Regions from separate parts of the Homo sapiens genome. Here region 2 is linked to region 1. Evidence: promoter capture Hi-C in human tissues and cell types (Jung and others, 2019). All regions are on one chromosome and are shown on one strand. Each heading gives the region's core, a stretch centred on a gene start or on the middle of the fragment in contact. The rest is flanking DNA. Distances are from core to core; before and after follow the strand shown.

What was found. Contacts are between HindIII fragments. The study calls those that stand out against the background at their distance.
Region 2: a fragment that was not itself captured here is called in contact with the fragment with the promoter of CES3 in region 1 in 1 of the 25 tissues and cell types used here (spleen).

What each region holds. Positions count from the first base shown.
Region 1 is chr16:66,959,523-66,963,367 of GRCh38, reverse strand. It overlaps CES3 (carboxylesterase 3), which reads right to left and starts at 2,102. Exons shown (of 13, transcript NM_024922.6): 1 at 1,979-2,102; 2 at 1-189. The coding sequence starts at 2,060. RefSeq lists enhancers at 1,911-2,120, 1,905-2,406, 2,211-2,460. The HindIII fragment of the contact is 25,956 bases long and covers 1-3,845 here.
Region 2 is chr16:67,288,364-67,292,208 of GRCh38, reverse strand. It overlaps PLEKHG4 (pleckstrin homology and RhoGEF domain containing G4), which reads right to left. Exons shown (of 22, transcript NM_001129729.3): 20 at 3,809-3,845; 21 at 3,605-3,720; 22 at 2,729-3,406. The coding sequence ends at 3,401. KCTD19 (potassium channel tetramerization domain containing 19) reads left to right here. Exons shown (of 16, transcript NM_001100915.3): 13 at 372-563; 14 at 746-900; 15 at 1,223-1,324; 16 at 2,527-2,777. The coding sequence ends at 2,640. Among named protein-coding and RNA genes, the nearest start is that of PLEKHG4, 11 kb to the right of the region's middle. The HindIII fragment of the contact is 4,855 bases long and covers 1-3,845 here.

The DNA.
Region 1 (3,845 bases), core at 853-3,352:
TGGCATCCCGCACACCCTCCCAGGGCTGTGCTGGGTGTGGGGCTGAGAACCGGTCAGGGCCCAGTGGCGGCTGGGCAAATGGAATGCCCAGAAAGACATTCACAAGGCGGTCTGTGCCCTTCACGCCCACCTGCCGGCCTCGCACACGACCCAGGGTGGTGTCTACTTCAGGCTGAGCAACTTCGGGCCCTGAGGGAAGGACAGAAAGGCCACGGGGTGAGTTTGCAGCCCCCATGAGGGGAAGGAGTGAAAGACAAACCCTCAGGCTGTTCTCAGTACTTACCACACAGCATCTTGGTAACCTTCCCAGCAAGCCGGTGAGCCTGGTCTTAGGTTGACGCCCAACTTCCTCCTCCCTGCCTGCCTGAGAGTCACTACCACTCCACTCCAGGCCAGACCGGGCCTGCCACTAGGGCCTTGTGCCTTGGGGCCAGCCACTTGCCCATTTCTTTGTTTTTATTTTTTGTGTTTGAGACAGGGTCTAGCTCTGTTGACCAAGCTGGAGTGCAGTGGCACGATCTTGGCTCACTGCAACCTCTGACTCCCGAGTTCAAGCGACTCCAGGGCCTCAGCCTCCCAAGTAGCTGGGATTACAGGTGTGCACCACAACGCCTGGCTAATTTTTGTATTTTTAGTAGAGACGGGGTTTCATCATGTTGGCCAGGCTGGTCTCGAACTCCTGACCTCAAGTAATCCATCCACCTGGGGCTCCCAAAGTGCTGGCATTACAGGCATGAGCCATCATGCCCAGCCCTGAATTATTTTTTAAAAAGTAGAGATGGGGTCTCATTATGTTGCCCAGGCTGGTCTCAAACCCCTGGGCTCAAGCAATCCTTTCACCTCAGCCTCCCCAAGTGCTGGGACGACAGGTGTGAGCCATCATGCCCAGCTGGCACCATGTTTCTTGTACGGCCTGCAGAACTGTGGCCTAACTAAACTTCTTTTCTTTGTGAATTACCCAGCTTCCTGTATTCTTTTACAACAACACAAACAGACTAAGACTGGAGGACTGCCTCTCCCAGGCTAGACAATTCCTAGAGATAGGAGGCAGCTCTCTGGGGAGGTGGAATTGGCAGGCATCTCTCTAGGGAGCAAAGGCAAACCAGTCCAGAGCCATACCCAACCACCTCCTTTATACAGCTCTCAGCTCCTGGCTGCCATCCACCAGCCATAATCACCACAGAGCCGGGTACCAGGAAGCTGGCTGGGGACAGCCCCTTTCCCCAGAGCCTGCTGCCAATCGTAAACCTCTTTAGCCTGCCTTGCCTATTCCTTCCCGTGGCAACCGTGTCAAAGGGGCTTGCCCACATTTTCCCCCTGCTCCCTCTGCCTCCTGGCTGATGCCACCTGGTGCTTCCCTCTGTGGCCCTATGTGGCATGGCCTGCTTCCTGTTCACAGGGAACTACGAGCAAACTCCTTCCCTCATGATAGTCATTTGCATATCTGCTTGTCTTACTATACTTCATTAAAACAAATCTCAGGCCCCCTTAAGACATAAAGACAGGCCAGGTGCGGTGGCTCACGCCTGTAATCCCAGCACTTTGGGAGGCCGAGGCAGGTGGGTCACCTGAGGTCAGGAGTTTGAGACCAGCCTGGCCCACATGGTGAAACCCCATCTCTCCTAAAAATACAAAAATTAGCCGGCCATGGTGGCAGGTGCCTGTAATCCCAGCTACTCAGGAGGCTGAGGCAGGAGAATCGCTTGAATCCAGGAGGCGGAGGTTGCAGTGAGCCGAGATCGCGCCATTGCACTCCAGCCTGGGTAACAAGAGCAAAACTCTGTCTCAAACAACAACAACAAAAACAACGAAACAAATACAGCAAGAGCAGAGCGCCTGCCCAGAGAGAATGCACAACCCCTGGTCTGCCTCCAAACAGGACTGTTTCCTGAGCGGTCGGCCCACTGCTCCCTGTCCCTGTCTCACTCTTGACTCCTCCACACCAAGTACCTCTGCAGGCCCAGCAGGTGTGTCTTACCAGTGGCTGTGGCAGGGCATGCCAGGAGCAGACAGACCACCCCGACCAGGACCCCGGACTCCACTCTCACTGCTCTCTCCATTCTCCTTACAACTGGTTCGACAGAAGCTTCAGAAGGTGGAATAAGATCCCTGCCCTTCAGCACCACCGATCTCTAAAGGGCTGTGATATAGAACCTCCAAGGACAGCGCCACCTAGCTGGTGGCCAGCCCCATGCTCAGGCTGAGCCAGAGGCAGGGCTAGATGAGTGCCCTGCAGAGGCCTGGTTGATATGACAGCCCTCCCCGTCCCACTGTTTTCAAATTCCAGCTCTCCTGACTTGGTGATCTCCATGAAATCCTGTGCGTTCATCCCAAGGTGACCACATCACTGACCCTAGGAAGTGGTGGCCAGTGACCCTGGGGTGCCACTCCGAGTGGGCAACCCAGCCTGAGGTGAGGGCTTGATATGGTTTGGATGTTTTGTCCCCTCCAAATCTCATGTTAAAATGTGAAAGAAAATAAAACAGTGATGATAATAGGACCCACCTCATAGCATTGAAGTGAGGGTACATGTTTGCATGTGTGTGTGAGTGTGTGTGTGAAAACATGAGGCTTGGGACTGGGTGTGGTGGCTCATACCTGTAATCCCAGTGCTTTAGGAGGATGGGGCAGGAAGATCGCTTGAGCCCAGGAGTTTGAGACCAGCCTGGGCAACACAGGGAGACACGTCTCTAGAAAAAATAAAAAAAATTAGCCAGGTGTGATGGTGCATGCCTGTGGTCCCAGCTACTTGGGAGGCTGAGGTGAGAGGATCACTTGAGCCCAGGTTGTCGAGACTGCAGTGAGCTGTGATAATGCCACTGCACTCTAGGCTAGGCTATAGAGCAAGACAAAGAAAGAGAGAAAGAGAGAGAGAGAAGAAAGAAAGGAGAGAGAGAAAGAAGGAGAGAGAGAAAGGAGAGAGAGAAAGAAAAAGAGACAGAAAAAGAGAAAGAAACAAAAAGAGAAAAAAGAAAAATAGAGAGAGAAAGAAAGAGAGAGAGGGAGGGAGGGAGGGAGGGGAGGGGAGAGGAGGGGAGGGGCTTGGAACCAGAACTCATGGAAGCCTGAGGAGAGGAGAGTCTGGGAACCAGAACTGATGGAAGCCTGCTCTTGACCGGGGCGGGGATCTGCAGGGCATCTGTCTCTCTGCTGGCTTAGGAGGCTCCCACCCCCAGGGAGGGCAGGACTCACTTCTGGGCCTCAGTGTCAGGAACATGGCTGGCTGGGAGTAGGCGGTGGGAGGATGGATAGATATTTGCTGGCCCAGTGAAAGACAGAGTGAGGGTTGTGCCTAAACACGATGCCAGATCCTCTTCCGGGGCTCCAGCTGGCACCCAGAGCTGAAGAGACAGGCTTTAGGATGAAACTTCCCTTCTGCCAAAAATAACTAGTGCCAGCTGGGCATTGTGGCACAAGTCTGTAGTCCCAGCTACTCAGGCGGCTGAGGCAGGAGGATTGCTTCAGCCCAGGAGCTTGAGGCCAGCTTGGGCAACATAGCAAGACTCTCTCTCTAAAAAAAAATTCATAAAAAACCATTGCAGCTTCCTGAATCTTCCCCGGCAGCCTGGGGTGGGGTCTCCTTTTCAGAGCTGCCTCCAGACTTTGTCCTTCCCTATTCCACCTTCCTCTTCTTGTTGCCATCACAGCCCTGCCACCCCCCAGCCACACCCCCTTGATCATTTGCTGAAGATTTTAGCACCTGGCTCTGGCATGCTTTCCACCTTCAACACTCACATCAAGGCACCTGGATCTCTTCTCCGCCCACAATCTTACCTTCCATCTTCGGGTATAGATGCTGCCAGGAGAGCTCTCCATCTGCTCCCAAGGCCACGTTTCCCAACTCC
Region 2 (3,845 bases), core at 761-3,260, 330 kb before region 1:
CTGCTTATGAAGATTTGATGGTAATTGAAGAAAAGAATTTTAAAAGCCTGTGCGTGTGGCTCACGCCTGTAATCCCAGCACTTTGGGAGGCTGAGGCGGGTGGATCACCTAAGGTCAGGAGTTCGAGACCAGCCTGGTGAAACCCCATCTCTACCAAAAATACAAAAATTAGCCGGGCGTGGTGGCAGGTGCCTGTAATCCCAGCTACTCAGGAGGCTGAGGCAGGAGAATCGCTGGAACCTGGGAGGCAGAGGTTGCAGTGAGCCAAGATTGTGCCATTGCACTCCAGCCTGGGCAACAAAAGCAAAACTCTATCTTGAAAAAAAATTTTTTTTTAAAAGGAGAGCCCCCTCCCTATGTTGTTTTCACAGAAAGCCCTGCCCCTGAGCAGCCTCTGCCCGAGGCCAGTGAGGTGGACAGCCTAGGGGTTATCCTCAAAGTGACTCACCCCCCCGTGGTGGGCAGCGATGGCTTCTGCATGTTCTTTGAGGACAGCATCATCTATACCACGGAGATGGACAACCTCAGGCACACAACACCCACAGCCAGTCCCCAGCCCCAAGGTGAGGCTCTGGAGCCAGGCCGAGCCCTGCGCCTCCTCGTGAGGATGCCTGAGCCCCCTCCCAGGGTACTTCAGGCAGAGACAGTGGCCCCTGGGGGCCCTACCCCTCTCCCCCTCCTCACACTGTCTCTAAGGCCCTAGCTATTGACAGATGTGGCCACATCCACTTTCCCTCCTCCACAGAAGTGACTTTCCTGAGTTTCTCTCTGTCCTGGGAAGAGATGTTTTATGCACAGAAATGTCACTGCTTCCTGGCTGACATCATCATGGATTCCATCAGGCAAAAGGACCCCAAAGCCATCACAGCCAAGGTGGTCTCCCTGGCCAATCGGCTGTGGGTATGTGTGACAGGCCTCAGGCCCTGGGGCACCCTGTACCTTCTCCACCTCTTCCCCTGCCCCACAATAAGTGGTGCAAGGCAAGAGGAAGTAAGCCAAGATGGGGTTAAGGAGAAGGCCAGGGCCAGAAGAGTGGTGGGACAGGGAGGCAAGCAGAGCAGTTGCACCTGGACTGAGCCTCGGCCAAGAGGCAGATTTGCAGTGACAGTGCCCGCCCCCTACCCCTGTGGCTCTGTGGGCCCAGAGAAGTCCCCGCTCTGCATCTCACTCTGAGGGGCTAGGAGCTGCCCTAGCACTGCCTGACTGTGGGCTCTCCTGGCAGACCCTGCACATCAGCCCCAAGCAGTTTGTGGTAGATTTGCTGGCCATCACCGGCTTCAAGGATGACCGGCACACCCAGGAGCGCCTGTACAGCTGGGTGGAGGTGAGGGCCACTTGCAATCCCTGGGAATCCACCGACCCTGTGGATGCCTCAGATGGACGTGTGTCTTGCTGCACCAGGGCTGGGCCAGCACTGCCCAGAAGGCTAGACAGGCAGCTTAGGCCACTGCTCCCAGGGAGGGAGAAACTGCATGAAATTAACCAATCCAGAGTAGTCCAAAAGCAGTATTCAGGCCACTGGTTTTTACAGTTTTCCTCCAATGATACCAGCTGTGCCTTCATCACTAACAACCCTGGCCACACTTAGGGACACATATCATATGAGCCCAAGCTTTGACTCATATGGGAGTGAGGCCTTTTCAACCAGTGATACCAGCTTCACCTATCTGGCCACGATGTCACCAATTGTGTACATTCCTTTCATTTCTAAACTACTTTTAAGCATTCTTAGGCCGGGCGCGGTGGCTCACGCCTGTAATCCCAGCACTTTGGGAGGCCGAGGCGGGTGGATCATGAGGTCAGGAGATCGAGACCATCCTGGCTAACACAGTGAAACCCCGTCTCTACTGAAAACACAAAAAAATTAGCCAGGCGTGGTGGTGGGCGCCTGTAGTCCCAGCTACTCAGGAGGCTGAGGCAGGAGAATGGCGTAAACCCGGGAGGCGGAGCTTGTAGTGAGCCGAGATCGTGCCACTGCACTCCAGCCTGGGTGACAGAGCGAGACTCCGTCTCAAAAAAAAAAAAAAAAAAAAAAAAAAAAGAAAATATTCAGTAAGGGCAAAGGAATGATCAAGGGTTTTTTTCTTTTTCCTTTTCTGATTCCTTAATCTAATTTTAACATTGAGGCCGAAACGATTTAGGCAGTTTCTCATTGATCTGACACTTCTATAATCAAGAGCATTATTATAACACCTTTCACCACAAGCCCTCTAGTACCCAGTTACCATTAGGCATCTGGCTCATATGTGGTTTGTAAAGGTGAAGTCAGCATGTATGGCTAAAAAGCAGAAAACCAGTAGCAGGAAACAGATTTTTGAACCTCCGGTCTTTCTGCTTTGTTCCCTGATAGCCATTTCTAGCCCCACCCTGTGAGATGCCCTGGGGCAGAGCTGGGCCCTAGAGCATCAAAAGTCCCCAACAGCCGGGCTTGCCCTGTCCCTGCCCCAATGGGAGAACCCCACCCACATGGAGCTAGAGTAGACAACTGGCCAGGAAATCAGGGATAAGACTGGCCTTTCCTTCCAGCTTACACTGCCCTTCGCCAGGAAATATGGCCGATGCATGGACCTGCTCATCCAGAGGGGCCTGTCTAGGTCTGTCTCTTACTCCATCCTGGGAAAGTACCTACAAGAGGACTAGGGTGCCCAGAGATGCAGCCCCTCATGCCCCACCCGCCAAGTCTCATTTTAATTGGAGATAGCCCAGAATGCATGTGCCCATCAGAGGGTACATATCAGTCTATTTTTTATTATAAACAAATAAAAGATTAAATCACACATCAAAGACCTAGACTCCTTCTCTGAGACACCAAAGGCCTAACAACCAGTAAGATAATTTTAGACAATTCTATTGAAAGTTATTCAAAAGGCATCAAGTCAAAATAACGAAACTGCCCCAGTAAAAAGGGGCTGGGCCTGGGGGCCAGGAAAGGCAAGCATGAGGGCCCAGTAGAGGTGGACCTGTCCCTATGGTAACTGAGCTCGGCTTTAAGGCCAGGCATTGGGGATCAGCTGCTAGGAGCCCACCTGTGTTCTTCCTGAGGGGTGGGGGCACCCTAGTCACTGCCTAGAGGCACATGGTCCCCCACCAGCCTACAGCATGGAAACACCCAATGTCTGCTCTAGCCTATTCTTAACCCACAACTGGGATGGGAGCTGGGGACAGGAGAAGGGGTCATGGGGCCAGGAGCCTATTCAGGCTCTACAACCAGACTTCCCTAGAGAGGCCCCGTGCCAGTTAGTCCAATGGCCACACACATCAGAAAGGGTAGTCAACAGCGTTGCACATGTAGGTTGGAGGTAGCCCAGGTGTCAGCCACACCCTGGTCACAGCAGATCCAGAGAGGCAATGTTCCTTGGAGCTGCAGGCTGCTGGATCTACTGCTCGTCCAGTCCCGGGCTCAGACCTGCAGGGCCAGGCCAGGCATGAATGCCTGCTTCCCTGACTCTGGACCCAGGAGGTGTCTGGGGAATGGCTCTGGCCCACCCACCCCAAGCTCTACCCAAAGTAAAGGCCTAGCCTGGGCTGGGGAGGGGCTGGTCACAGTCACAGGCTCAGCTTGGGCTGGGGAAGGGCTGGTGGGTATAGGGCAAATGGCACTCACACAGGGTAAGTCCTCCAGGCCCCTACCCAGGGCCTGCCCTGACACACAGCTGCTGTCAGAGCCACTGGAGCCACTGGCTGATGGGCATTGGGACGAGATCTCTGAGTCCTCAGCAGCTAGGGAGGGAGACTGGGTGAACTGTCAGCACGGGAAGCCCCAGACCCCAAGCCATGCCCTCCTGCCTCTGGCTAGGCCCAGACATACTCAAAGAGGGCTGGCCGCCCAGCTCTGCCTCAGCCTC